2 separate regions of the Homo sapiens genome follow, and region 1 is linked to region 2. Evidence: promoter capture Hi-C in human tissues and cell types (Jung and others, 2019). All regions are on one chromosome and are shown on one strand. The core of a region is centred on a gene start or on the middle of the fragment in contact, and the rest is flanking DNA. Distances in the headings are between cores, read along the strand shown. Region 1 has its middle 110 kb from the start of MYCNUT. Region 2 holds the start of MYCN (MYCN proto-oncogene, bHLH transcription factor).

Evidence for each region. Contacts are between HindIII fragments. The study calls those that stand out against the background at their distance.
Region 1: a contact is called between a fragment that was not itself captured here and the fragment with the promoter of MYCN in region 2, in 1 of the 25 tissues and cell types used here (H1 embryonic stem cells).

The regions. Positions count from the first base shown.
Region 1 is chr2:15,809,476-15,816,608 of GRCh38, forward strand. No RefSeq gene overlaps it. Among named protein-coding and RNA genes, the nearest start is that of MYCNUT, 110 kb to the right of the region's middle. RefSeq lists enhancers at 1-507, 1,236-1,963. The HindIII fragment of the contact is 5,331 bases long and covers 175-5,505 here.
Region 2 is chr2:15,938,320-15,945,806 of GRCh38, forward strand. It overlaps MYCN (MYCN proto-oncogene, bHLH transcription factor), which reads left to right and starts at 2,231. Exons shown (of 3, transcript NM_005378.6): 1 at 2,231-2,424; 2 at 3,629-4,535; 3 at 7,174-7,487. The coding sequence starts at 3,746. MYCNOS (MYCN opposite strand) reads right to left here and starts at 3,366. Exons shown (of 4, transcript NR_110230.2): 1 at 3,213-3,366; 2 at 2,655-2,778; 3 at 181-406. RefSeq lists enhancers at 227-784, 1,829-2,359. The HindIII fragment of the contact is 20,661 bases long and covers 1-7,487 here.

The DNA.
Region 1 (7,133 bases), core at 1,590-4,089, 130 kb before region 2:
TTGAAGTGCATTACTGCTAATTACTTCGCCCTTTCTTTCAGTCATCATGTTGACAGAGAAATCTATTACCCAGCAGCTCCGTTTCCACAAATTGCCCTTCCCCGAGGACTTTGGGGAGGAGGCTAGATGGTGCTAGGGGAAATCGCTGCTTTGTTGGAGAAGTGGGCCTCCAGCCCTCCTCAGAACGCGGCTCCAGCTGTCTCCTAACCAGAGAGAGGGAAGCTAGTGGGTACCCCGCAGGAGGCGGTGGGAGTCACCTGGGAGTCCTGTCCCACCCAGGGTCCTCCCAGCGGCCTCCTCTTACAGATCACCTGGAATGCTGATGAGGTGGGTGGGGAGACAGCCTGGTCTCTGCCTCAAAACAAGAAAGAGAGTTGGAGGAAATGCTGCCTCAAGTAGCAGCCGTGTTGAAAGCTCTTGCGTATTTGGCCAATGAAATAAGGAGCGGGGCCCTGGGCCGTGCCTTCTGCCTCATTCTGCCTCTCCTGGGCCTTCCTCATCCCTCCGCCTCTCCTCTTCCTCCTCTCTGCGTGTGACATTCCCTCTCCTCTTCCCCGGTCTTCCTCTCTCCTTCACCTCCTGCCTCCTGCCCTCCTCTTTCCTCTTGCCCTCTTGCCCTCTTGCTCCTCGTGGCTCAGCCCCACCGAGGGCCAGTGTTGAGGAGTTTGGGACAGTCATATCAGTGCCTACTGGGTTCCCCATCTCCTCCCTCCCCATCTGTCTTTCCAAGTCATCTCTTAAGACAGAGCTCTAGCATGTGCTAGGGGGTTAGACACCTATGGGCCAGTGAGAAGACGGAAATGATCGGGAGAAGAGCTCGCAGAGCCTGCCTGGCTGCAGCCCCTCCCTTGGCCTCTTCTCTCAGCCTATGCTCCCTCAAAACACATGCGTGGGGCCTCGGTGGCGAGGACGCATCAGAGACAGAGCAAGACGCGAAGTCTGCCCCTAAGAGGCTCATCGTGGCAGGTGACGGGTTGGGGAGAATAAGATGCGTCTAGTTATACCTAGAGCCTAGGACTGAATATAACCAAGGCTAAGCTGCCTTGAGACCCGGTCTCTGCTCCACAAACACCAGTCCAGCATCCACAATAATTTACAAGCAATAGAATCTTGCCTTCCGTGTCTGAAGGGAGTCTGCATTCTTCATGCTTGGCAAAGCTTCTGGAAATCCCTTTTTAATAATATGATTCCAGTCTCTCCCCATCCCCTCACTCCCCCCAGTGACCAATTCTGCCTGTTCCAGTGTGAGCCCCACTCACCGCTTTGGCTTGTCCAGGGTCCCGTCACCCATTCTCTGCCTCCTCCCTCCACACAGGGCCCGGCAGAGGCGCCTCAGAAACTCAGGTCGGTCCTCAGCAGGGCATGTGGGAAGGGCCCGGTGTCGGGCATTGTTTCCCTGTCAGTCTATAGCTGCTGTGGGTCCAGCACCCCCACCACCCACCCCAGCTAGTCTTTGAGCCTGAGAGCACATTACAAGTTTCCAAGATAAGAATGTACTGGCCCCGAAGCTTGGCTGGGACTCTGCCCTTGATGGAGGGTGTGAGGGGGGAACAGAGAGCTCCCCGGGGCATGGGCCACTGTTCTCAAGGCCTTTGCCTTCAGTTCAGGGCCCTACATCTGGAACAGAGCAGGAGGCCAGGGAAAAAATGTCTGCAGAAGAGATCAAACCGTGAATTGTTTTCCAAAGAGCTGGAGAAGGCTTAGGGTATGAACACATCATCAGATTCTGCCAAATAATGGTGGAGGGTACCTGGGAAGACAGGAGGTTATTCAAGGTCTCAGGACACCTCCCACTAGGGTACTGGACAGGTCTGTGGCCTTCCCTTCTTTCCTCACTCCTTTCTCCCATATGCCCTCGGAGGAGGAGCCTGGTGGGGGGGAAGGGGAAGTTTCAATGCATTTTCCTGGGAAATGACTTCTCCGGAGTCACATTTCTTTTAGGTCTATATGGTAGAGTCATGGACTGTCCAGCCGCCCTTGACTTAGTTGGCTGAGATCCACCCAGGAAGCAGGTCCCTGATCTCAGGCGTGGATTCTCTGGAGGGGCTGGATGGGCTGCCTGTGCCTCCTGCAGGCCCTCCTCCGCTGGAAGGAGGCAGGCCAGGAGATGCCTCGCATTCCTGTGGGGCAGTGGGCTGGAGAGGTAGTTGTTTCTTTTTTTTTTTCTTAGAGGCACGGTCTTGCTGTTGTCCAGGCTGGAGTGCAGTGGCGCCATCATAGCTCACTGCAGCATCAACCTCCCGGGCTCAAGTGATCCTCCCTCCTCAGCCTCCTGAGTATCTGGGATTATAGTTGTAAGCCACCACACCCAGCCTAGAGAGGTTTTAAGGCTTCCAGCCTCCCTTGGGGCATGGAGGTCTCCCTCCATAGGCCTGGGATGGGTAGTTGTGGTTTGGGCTGAATGCTCTTGATGATTATCAAGCTACTCCTGGGGTATCCCTGCAGATGAACATGAGACTGAATTTCTGGAAGGAGGAGAAGCTGTGATGAATGCAGAGAGGGTGCACTCGGGATAGACAGATCACTTTGTCTCAAGTGCAAATTGTGATGAATTGGAGGCCACATGCACCGACAGTCACAGGTGGGAGGAAACAGAGAGGGCACCTGGTCCATCCCTCATAGGACTGATGGAAAATGTGGACCCAGAGAAGGAGAGATGTCTGTCCAGAGCCACACACCAGGAGCCCCACCTTCACCCCCCTTTCCTCCCCGCCCCACACTCACTGCGCTCTTGTAATGAGGTTAATTCCACTACGAAAATCTCACAGGATGGAAAATCCCCCAACTGTCCCTGCTTGGGCTTAGTTTTTAGAAATTCAAGGACGTGTACACATTTCAGTTCTTTTTTTTTTTTTTCAAACTGAATGTTTAAAATTCAGGCATCTTTTGTTCCACTCGATTCTGGAAGAATAATTCTAGGGACTTCAAGATCTCATTTAACAAGCGTTACAGCTTGATGAAATGCTGATTTTCATATTGTTCTCAAACTGCACAGTTGCAGAAGCCAATGCCAAATGCAAGCAGGATATTTTGAAGGAAAAAGCTTAAAATTGAAATCCACGTTGACAAATCCGAGATGAATGGCAGCGTGATGAGCACAGGGCTGCAGTTTCTCAGTCAGCCTGGAAAGGCAGTAGGGCGTGGCCAGAGACAACAGGCTGTGGACAAGGACCTGGCTCAGATTTAGGCTCTGCGACTGCTGGCTGAGCCACCACATGCAAATTTGTTTGTAAATGATAAGGGAATCTGGACTGGCAGGGAGGATTTGGCTAGTTTTTGTGGCCTTTGAGGTGCAAATGACAAGAAACTTGAGAAAAGCAAAGTCTCTCTTAGGGTTGAGATTTCTCTGCTGCCTACAGTTTAGCTGCAGTGTTGAAAGAATAGGGAGGTTGAAAGGCATCATGTTGGATGGAAAAGAGAATTGGAGTCTGCAGATGGGGATCCACTAACCAGCAGACTTCTCATGTGGACACTGAGCTGACAGATCAGAACTTACGTACTGCGTTGAGGACAACTCCAAGTGGCACTGAGAGTAGAGCCTGGCACTGAATAAATATGAATACATTTCAAATGAGGAATTAGCAATGGCCATGCTGGACACTGTTTTGAGAAGAATTGGTGGGTTCCTGGATCAGCAGGAACATTTGCATTGATTACCCAGCCATGGACTGGTTAGGGTGGAGCAAAGGCTTCATATATGCACCATAGTTACTGACCCTGGACTAAATGAGTTCTGAGCTCCTGTGGATGGCTGTTGGCATCAGGTTCTGTGTCCACACAATGTCAGAATCACTCCCTGGAGAAGGGTCAAGCTCTAACCATCTGGACAGCTGGATGCCGGGTGTGGGGCTGCTGTGTATGGCCATGCAAGCTGTGCCCTGCACAACTCCAGGTCTGCTCTTCACATGGTCTATTGGAAGCATGGCGCCCTGGAGCTGGGCAGCACAATGGCGCTGGCTGAGAGGTAGCAAACTGCAACTGAAAAAGCACTGTCCCAGAACCTAGGAGACCTGGTTCATAGTTTTCTGTCTGAATTTGTCGCCAATTCCCTTTGGGGCCACACTCAAGGCCTTCCCCATCTTTGTCTCCAGCATCCCCATCTACATTTGCAACCACTGGTTCCCAAGTGCTCCCCCGGGGCCCTGCAACCAGCATTCCAAGCACTTGGGTGTTTTGCAACTTCTGTTTGCTTTGCCATAGAGCCAGACCTCTAACCTGGGCAACTAGACTTGTTTCTTGGGCAACTGTAAAGCCAGGCCGACTCCTCAGACCATGAGGGGCAGTGGGGGTGGGGATGGGGGTGGGCTTTCGCCACAGCTCAGTGCTCTTGCCAGCTCCCAGGCTCTGGGGCTCCCAGGAGGACTCCCTTGCAGAGGCCAGGCCCTGCTCTGCAGAGCAGGTGAAGCACTCCTGTGGACATCACCTTTGGGTACCATGCAGGGCAAGACCCAGCCTTCCTCTCTTGTCTCAAGGAATGAGCCTCACCCCACCCTTTGCTCCTCATGCACCAGCTCTGCTGACCTCACAGCAGGTCTCCATACTGGCCCTGCGGTTTCCTCCCTCTGAGCCTTTGTACAAACCAGTCCTTCTGCCTGGAATGTCCTCCCACTTCCTCTAGTCTATCCTCAAAGTCCCATCTGAGTGGAGCCATCTCAGCGAACTCCCTCCCTTCCAGAGAGAAGCAGTCACCTCTCCTTTGTGTGGTGCCGCTTCTATTTCCAGGTTCTCCTACAGAGCACTTAATGCTCTGCTTTTCCAATGCCTGGGAGCTCTTCCTGGGAAGGGAAGGTATCTGCACAGAATAATAATAGGCCATTTCTGTAAGCACTGACCATGTGCTAAGCATTTCACATGTATAATTTCAAGAAGTGGGTATTGAACTTGACTCATTTCATAGAGGAGGAAACTGAGGCCAGAGATCACTCAGCAAGTGCATGGCAGCTCAGAGTTCAGCTCCCCATCTCCAGAACCTGGAGATCTGCCCGCTGCTTCTCCTGAAGTGAGCCATCTCCTCTGCAGCCGGCCTTTCATTCCCTGCCCCAGTCCTGGGTATAGTCGGACTGTCTTGGAGGAGCAGCTCTCTGAGCACCCCAGACAGAAAGCCTTGGCAGCTCAACATCAAACCGGGTGGGGGGGGGGGTGTGGATTCATCCTGTGCGGTGGCGTGGGGCAGACGTAAACATTGCTGAGTGAGACATGCAGTTTTCCAAGGGAACTGTTATCTGTGCAGGCCCGTTTGTGGGGCATTGAAATGAATTCCTTCCAGGAGGATTATCTTTCCTGCTTTATTATATTATATTTTATTTTTTTAGTGTGTTGCAAGTGTTAAAACTAGTTTTCAAGACCTGTTAATGAATCCAGAGTGATTATGTTGATATCCCCATCAATTATGCAGAAAATCAGGTAAAATGACTATTTAGTTTATGTAATAGATGTGTGGGCTTCTTGTTCACTCTCTGAAAGAACATTCCTGAAAGGGTCATTTTTTATTTCCGGAGATGCCTTTTTTCCTAATTGCTTGAAGGTTTGAAAATTGCTCCCTTTCCCCCATTTTCCTTCTGTGCAAATGTGTTTCCTCATGTCACATTTCCCTGACACCTCCAGTCCCCTGGAGAAGCAGAGCCCCTCCTCCAGCCTCCCACGTGCCTTCTGTCTCACCAGGAAAACCTCCGAGATTCAAAACCAAGTTGGAAGAAACACAAACCCTTTGGTTTTTCTCTTTTGTAAATAGATTTGACACAATGAAGTGGGAAGAGGCCAATCCTGAGTAGAAGGAGAGCTGGTTCCCGTTCCCAGCACTGCCGTGAGTTTGCTGAGTGACTTGGGCACGTCCCTCCTTCCTTCTGTTTCCTCAGCTCTACAATGACAAAGACAAACTGAGGGTCTACTAGGTAGGACGAGGGCCTGTGGTTGGAAGGTCCAGGAGCCAGATTCTACTTGACTGGGAGGAAATCTTTCTCTGAGAGCTTACCAGCCTGTCCAGTCGCTGTGAGATGACCTGATCTGAGAGTGGGCAGCCATCCTGAAAAATGCTGTACTCAGGGATTCAGATATGGGTGAGATTGGGCCAGGTGACCTTCAAGTCTCATTTAGCCTCAGAATCTCTGGTTCCTGGGCTCGACATGGTCAGCGGTTTCTTCCATCTTTAAAGGCCAGCAGGACACTCTGTTCGTTGCTCTTTGACCTTTTAAGCACCTGCTCACACAGTGGGAGGCTCGCCACCTATGGGGAAATGTACCTCTCAGTTCTTCTACCCAAGCCCCCCTGTGCAAATGTTACAGGTCTGAACTGGACACATCTTTCTTAGCGCATTGTCTTTCAGACTCCATCTGAATGCATTGGAAAGATTGAAAGTAGAGATAGCGTTGTTTCCTAGACATGACTATCTTCATCATGCTAAATTACCTAACTGCAAAGGGGGCAAGACAGCCAAGCAGAGATTTTCCCAACAGGTGCCCCTTATTGTCTTCTATGAATATTGTGTATTTCCACCCTAACGAAGACTATCACTAGCTTTTTCTGGATGGGACATACTGAGCACATTAGCTCTAATTTCAACCAGCTCCTGAGCTGACTTAACCAGTCCGCTCTTAAATGCTGGCCATTCTGTCCCCTGCTGGGGACACTTTCCCTGACTCTCCAGCAGTGACTACCCCCACAGTCTGCCCCCTGCCAACTGATACATGTGCACTGGCCTCTGACATGAGTGAGAAATTAACTTCTACTGTGGGAAACCTCTGACATATTGGGGATTACTTGTTACAGCCGCTAGTACTAGCCTAGCTGATTTGCTCTTTCAACCTCTTACCACTCCGTCATATCACTGCTTATATGCCTTTCTGTCTCACTAGACCGGGAGCTCTTGGAGAGGAGGACTATGCCTGATTTGTCTCTGTAACCTATGATCATGCCTGCCACATAACTAGGGCTCTGTGTTGGCAGAGTGACCAAATGTTGAAAGATGCTGGCTATTTAAAATTGTAACCAGAAAGAGAAGCTGAACCTGTTGGTTGACATTTTCCCCCTTGAAGATAATTTCAAGGGAGCTGGAAATCCCAGAAGGCTTCCCAGAAGAGGTAACTGGAAATAAAAACAATTTTTAAAATTGAGTTAAGTAGCAAGGGTGAACTCCC
Region 2 (7,487 bases), core at 981-3,480:
CAAAGGGTGAATGACCTAGTGATGGTCATTCATCTGAGGAGAAAGGACAAAGGTAGGACTTTGAATCGGAGCAACTGAACCCATCCTGGCCTATTTTCACAGTCTTGCCACAGAAGATCTGGCCACCTTAGAAGGACTCATTCAGTGATCTTGGTCTTGAATAATACCATGAGTACTTACTATATACAGGTACACTGCTGTGCCGTAAGGATTCCCTCTGGAGCAAAACTGACCCAGGTCACAGGTTAGTGAGGGAGACTGAGCCTGTCTTCCACAGTGTCACGGAAGTGAGCACTAAACAAATACTCCCAGGCATGGATCATTACAAATGGAGGTGAGTGCTGGACAGGAAAGGACAGGATGCTAGGCGAGAATTCAGCAGGAGGGCTTGGTGGCGATTAGGGGGCTAGGGAAAAGCAGAAGTGGGGCTGTAAAAGGCTTTTGCAAAGATGAAGGCTTTTACATTTGTGAGGGAAATAACAATAATAAAGGTGCTTGGAAGGGCTGCTCATCCGCATTCATGGGCCTCTTCCTAGAACTCTGGGAATCTTTCTCCCTAGAGCTCTGTAGGCGTCCAGGGTCAGGGCTGGAAAGGCCTTCACAAATGCTAATCTGTGAGCATTTTATGGGTTGCCCCCTGACCCTCAGCATCCTCCTCCTTAACTAGATCCAATGGTGAGGTGAAGAGGTGGGGGCGATGGAGAATGGCATTTCCAGTTTGGAGAAAAAAGTAGGGAGAGGCGGGGAAGCCTTCCCACCCCAATCCCAGGGCCAGGTTCCCCTCTCTCCAAACAAGCCTAAGGAATGTTTTTCAAGGCAAAATCCCACCTCACTGTGTATTTGGTTGTGAAGGGGGCTGTCCAGGAGATCAGGGTTGTTTTTGGAGAGTTTGGAGGGCAGGGGCAATAATGTCTGACCCCCTGCAAACAAATACACCTGTAAGAAAAGCTAGACCAGAGTGAAGTAAAGCCAGGATTTGATGGTGGCGGGAAGGGAAGGGGCCAATGCTGCTGCTGGACAGAGGGGTGTTATTTTCCCCAGAAGAATAGCATGTCGTGGTCATCATCATAATAATAGCTGACACAACTATTATGGGCTGGGGACTTATAAGAGCTTTCATAACTCTCAGGTAGGAGGCACTACGAACTCCATTTCACAATTGAGGAAACTGAGGCACAAAGAAACGAAGTAGTGACAGCAGCTTTCCTTTTTCCCTTCAACAGTTTGGAATCAAGCTGTTTGAGCCGAGGCTGGGTCTCAGGAGGTGTGGACAGCACTTCCATCTCGGTAAATCAGATTCGCCTGCCCATAACTGGGGAGAATGGTGGCTTTGAAAAGGTTAACTTGGGAGCCCTGGGGACGGCTGCAGGGAACGTACGCCCATTCCCCCTAGGAAGCAGAGCCAGGCCGCCTCCTCCTCCGCAGTGGTGAGGACGCGTGGACAGTCCCGCGGGGGCGGCGGGAGACCTGCGGAGTGGCCGCACTCCAGGTCCGCGCCAAGGCCGGGCAGCTCCGCTTTCTGCTCAGTCTCCGCGAGGTGTCGCCTTCGGCCGAAGAAACCACCGCGGCGCCACCCTCGTAGCTCGCACTTATTTATTTATTTATTTTCAAACAAGGGGGGCGCCCCTCTTCTTTCAATTTGAAACTGGAAACATCCAGAGGTCTTGTTCCTAAGGGGGCGCGTCCTCTCCCTGCTATTTTGCACCTTCGGACTAGCCTTCTTTCGTAATTACACAGGAGCAACCTCCCTGCAAGGCCTTGCTCAACGTTGGCCTCGCGCTCAGCTGCACAACACGCAGTCAAAGCGGGGGCTGGGTTAGAAGCATCGGTCTCCCCTCCCCAACACACACCCCCGGAGCCCTCCGTAATTTTTTTTTCTTTTAATGACAAGCAATTGCCAGGCTCGCAGGGTGGGTGCTGCATTGCACCGCTCCGCGCGCAGCTGGTTCTCAGAGTGCAGCCGGTGCAAGCCCGGGGGTCCAAAAGGGCGGGAGGAGCACACCCTGGGCTTCCCAGCTTTGCAGCCTTCTCTCTGCAAAGAAAAGCAAGTGGCTTTTGGCGCGAAAGCCTTGGCGCCTCCCCTGATTTTTATGGAAATCAGGAGGGCGGGGTAAAGCCGCTTTCCTCTCCTTTCTCCCTCCCCCTTGTCTGCGCCACAGCCCCCTTCTCTCCCCGCCCCCCGGGTGTGTCAGATTTTTCAGTTAATAATATCCCCCGAGCTTCAAAGCGCAGGCTGTGACAGTCATCTGTCTGGACGCGCTGGGTGGATGCGGGGGGCTCCTGGGAACTGTGTTGGAGCCGAGCAAGCGCTAGCCAGGCGCAAGCGCGCACAGACTGTAGCCATCCGAGGACACCCCCGCCCCCCCGGCCCACCCGGAGACACCCGCGCAGAATCGCCTCCGGATCCCCTGCAGTCGGCGGGAGGTAAGGAGCAGGGCTTGCAAACCGCCCGGCGCCCAGGGAAGCGACGAGCGCCGGGGCAAGGCAAGCCCTGGACGGGATTGCGACGTGCGCACCGGGCGCCCTAATATGCCCGGGGGACTGTTTCTGCTTCCGAAACAAAACCATCTCTGGGTTTTCCCAGAAAAGCCAGTTCCAGCCCCGAAGGCATCCTGGCTAGAGGAGACCCGCCCTAATCCTTTTGCAGCCCTTACCGGGGGGAGTAATGGCTTCTGCGAAAAGAAATTCCCTCGGCTCTAGAAGATCTGTCTGTGTTTGAGCTGTCGGAGAGCCGGTGCGTCCCCACCCCAGGCTGGGGTTCTTCTCCAAAGGGTGCCCCTGGAGGAAGAAGAGGGGGGGATTAGGCAGGGCGAGGCCGCCGCGGTCGCAATCTGGGTCACGGCTGCTCCAGCTTGGAGGAGAGGCGGCTCTCCCGGCGACCCTCCTCGCGCGGGCGCCCCTGCCATTCCCGGGAACAGGGGCTCAGCCTCTCCCTCCCTGGAAGAGGACGTTGTCGTGGGTTTGGAAGAGCAGGGGTGGGCTTAGAGAGCTTCCAATTAAGCTATTGGCAGGAGTATCCCTGCAGCGGGTGAATGCCGAGGGGCGTTTGCTCAAATTTGGGGAGGGGAAGGATTTGTGGATATGGGTGTCTGTTGTTGGTCTCTGTCTAGAGAAAGGCTTTTTTTTATTTGCAAAGTTTTCTAAATCCCCTGCTATCATTTGCACTCCTGAGGTTGCATTTTTACAAAGGGGGTAGAAGGTACTCCAAATACCATTCCCGGTAGCTGGGTCGGAGAGCCTGGGGCTTCCCCTGAGCAGCCGGCCCCACACCGCTGCGAGTGCGGTTGTCTGCGTGCTCGTGAGAGCTAGAATTCTGCAGCCAGGAACAGCCCCCTCCCCCAGGCAGTGCCTTGTGTGAATGAAATGGCAGTTTCCAAAGTTGCGGAGCCTCGCCACCACCCCCTGCATCTGCATGCCCCCTCCCACCCCCTGTCGTAGACAGCTTGTACACAAAAGGAGGGCGGGAGGGAGGGAGCGAGAGGCACAACTTCCTCCACCTTCGGGAGCAGTGGGCAGAGTGGGGGGCTTGGAGGGAAGATTGGGGAACCTGGTTAGAGGGGGCGCCCATTGCCTATCCCCTCGGTCTGCCCCGTTTGCCCACCCTCTCCGGTGTGTCTGTCGGTTGCAGTGTTGGAGGTCGGCGCCGGCCCCCGCCTTCCGCGCCCCCCACGGGAAGGAAGCACCCCCGGTATTAAAACGAACGGGGCGGAAAGAAGCCCTCAGTCGCCGGCCGGGAGGCGAGCCGATGCCGAGCTGCTCCACGTCCACCATGCCGGGCATGATCTGCAAGAACCCAGACCTCGAGTTTGACTCGCTACAGCCCTGCTTCTACCCGGACGAAGATGACTTCTACTTCGGCGGCCCCGACTCGACCCCCCCGGGGGAGGACATCTGGAAGAAGTTTGAGCTGCTGCCCACGCCCCCGCTGTCGCCCAGCCGTGGCTTCGCGGAGCACAGCTCCGAGCCCCCGAGCTGGGTCACGGAGATGCTGCTTGAGAACGAGCTGTGGGGCAGCCCGGCCGAGGAGGACGCGTTCGGCCTGGGGGGACTGGGTGGCCTCACCCCCAACCCGGTCATCCTCCAGGACTGCATGTGGAGCGGCTTCTCCGCCCGCGAGAAGCTGGAGCGCGCCGTGAGCGAGAAGCTGCAGCACGGCCGCGGGCCGCCAACCGCCGGTTCCACCGCCCAGTCCCCGGGAGCCGGCGCCGCCAGCCCTGCGGGTCGCGGGCACGGCGGGGCTGCGGGAGCCGGCCGCGCCGGGGCCGCCCTGCCCGCCGAGCTCGCCCACCCGGCCGCCGAGTGCGTGGATCCCGCCGTGGTCTTCCCCTTTCCCGTGAACAAGCGCGAGCCAGCGCCCGTGCCCGCAGCCCCGGCCAGTGCCCCGGCGGCGGGCCCTGCGGTCGCCTCGGGGGCGGGTATTGCCGCCCCAGCCGGGGCCCCGGGGGTCGCCCCTCCGCGCCCAGGCGGCCGCCAGACCAGCGGCGGCGACCACAAGGCCCTCAGTACCTCCGGAGAGGACACCCTGAGCGATTCAGGTAAAGACCGAACTCGGGTCCGGCTGCCTCCCTGGGGCACTGGACCCCGGGTCGCGTCCCCTTTGTTAGTGCTCGTATGTCTTGGCCTGGGGAGCATTTTGGAGGCAGTGCTAGGGGCAGAGAGGTCCTGTTTCCCCCAAGTCTCTCCTCGGGGTAAAGAGAAGGGGCTGAGAGAATGCCGTTGCAAAAGGGGTGCTCTCCAATTCTCGCCTTCACTAAAGTTCCTTCCACCCTCTCCTGGGGAGCCCTCCTCTAGGCCATCACGGGCCCTCACCCGGTCCCCCACCTCTCTTTTGCAGCGCAGTCTGAGGAATAAAATTGGAGAAAGTTGGTGGCTAAACCGGGTGGGGGTTTAGGGGGTTGCTGGGTGCACTGCCTGGACAGAAACCTGTTAGCGCAGGGGTGAAAGGGACTCTCTGGCCCAGGTCAGGGGAGGGAAAGACATCCCGAGAAGATTCAAGGGCTGTGCAAAGCCCTGTTTAAGGCGCAGGAACTTATAGGAGGGTTGCACAGATGGCTAGAGCCGATTTTCTATTCTTTTTCTTTTTCTTTTTTTTTTTTTTTCAAATGTCGGTACCTTTCCCTTCCCCCATCCTCGGTGGGTGGTGGGCTATTTGCTCCTGGTGCGTGGCCAGCAGGCGGCGATATGCGAGGCCAGCAGGCGGGCCCGGGATCTGAAAGGCTGGGGGTGGTGGGGGCACCCTCCCTCCCTCCATTCAGCAGCTGGCTGCAAGTGCAACAGCAGTTGTGTACATTCTCAGGGGGCCTCCTCTTTCCAGTGTGCAGTGGAAACTGGCTGTAGTTTTGTCTTCCAGCCTGAATTCCAGGCCTAATTTGAGATGTGAGTTGTATCTGTAACCCAGTGCCCTTGAAGGTGAGGGCAGGCACTCAGCAGCCTCTCCAGGAAGGCTCACATCCTGGGAGGACTCACTGATTAGTTCTATTGTGTTCATTTGTCTGTGTCTTAAGCTGAAGGGAAGAGTTAAAACCAAGCCTTTCCCTGGGGGTCTGGATGAACAGAACTCAACCCAAAGAGTGGCATTGCCTTGTCCTTGGAGCAGGGAGCTGGGACCCCCCTTGGACTTTGAAAACCAGTGTTTTCAGAATGCAGGTGGATAACAAGCCTAAATTTACTTCTGGGCTGAGGAGAGATCTTTGAGGCTCCTGGAAGGAAACTTGGTGATAAGCCTCCAGTTTGAAACGGCTCTGTCCCTTTAATGTCTGTGCCTTGACAGCTTTTGGTGAGGAAGCACTTCCTTCCAACAGCTGTCTTCTTGGCAGAAAACCAAAACATTGGCTTAAAGGGACCCACAGACTGGAACAGCCTCACATTTCGGCTTTAGAACAAATCCCACAATTGTTCAGCTTTCCGGTCCCCTTCAGATCAAGCAGAAGATATGTTTTGATTTTCATGCTTGTATTTTAAACAATAATTTTCTACCCCAGCGTGGTAGTCAATGAGGAGAGAGGGGAAGAATGCGCACATGATGCTACACGTTTCTGTTGTTGCTGTTATTATTGGTGGCTTTGAGGAGAGCTGCTCCCATTTGGGGGTTTATACCAACTGTGGATTATGGCTTTGTCATTAAGATTTGATCTTTGTTAAATGAAAAACTGTTTATTGTATAAAACTCAGGTTTGTGGACGAAAAGTTGTTTTTTTTCTTCAGTTAATTAAATTGTTCCTCAAGTTTGTTTAAGGACTTAAAATCAAACACAACCATGTGTAAACTGCTAAATGAGGCTCCTAAAATGAGAGGCCTCAACTCTTTAAGTGTGGAGCTAGAAATGTAAATAAGTCCACAGGGCAGACTGGTGATTATGATAAAAGCTACCATTTACTGAGCATCTGTCTACTAGGCTCAGCTCTATGCTAAGTCTACATGTTATCTGTCAAAGTGGTATCATCCCCATTTAATAGCTGAGGAAACAGAGGCTTAGAAAGGCTGGGTAACTTGACCAGGGTCATGCAACTAGTCTGCGGTGGAGCCAGGATTCTGTCTGACCCTAAAGGCCAAGTTCTTTATATTTATTTCTACCACCTGCTAAAGTCTTGAATGGAGGCTGAAAGCACAGTTGGGGTATGGGGAAGAAAAATATATATACATACATATATGTATATGTATGTATGTATGTATGGGGGGTTGTTTTGTTTTTGTTTTTGATAAGGAGTTTTGCTCTTGTTGCCCAGGCTGGAGTGCAGTGGTATGATCTGGGCTCACTGCAACCTCCGCCTCCCGGGTTCAAGTCATTCTCCTGCCTCAGCCTCCCGAGTAGCTGGGATTACCGGAGCATGCCACCACACCCAGCAAAGTTTTGTATTTTTAGTAGAGACAGGGTTTCACCATGTTGGCCAGGCTGATCTTGAACTCCTCATCTCAGGTGATCTGCCCGCCTCCGCTTCCCAAAGTGCTGGGATTACAGGTGTGAGTCACCGCGTCCGGCCTACAGATATATTTAATTTAAAGAGATCTAAAACAAATACAAAACTGTCCACATCTATGTTGATGGACCCATAAAAATAGCAGTCTGCCAGGGTCTGCCGGAAGAGACAGATAAGCATACATATTAACATGGATATATATGTGAATTTCATTCAAATGGTTCTCACATGAGAGTAACTAGCATCTTTCTCTCAGATGATGAAGATGATGAAGAGGAAGATGAAGAGGAAGAAATCGACGTGGTCACTGTGGAGAAGCGGCGTTCCTCCTCCAACACCAAGGCTGTCACCACATTCACCATCACTGTGCGTCCCAAGAACGCAGCCCTGGGTCCCGGGAGGGCTCAGTCCAGCGAGCTGATCCTCAAACGATGCCTTCCCATCCACCAGCAGCACAACTATGCCGCCCCCTCTCCCTACGTGGAGAGTGAGGATGCACCCCCACAGAAGAAGATAAAGAGCGAGGCGTCCCCACGTCCGCTCAAGAGTGTCATCCCCCCAAAGGCTAAG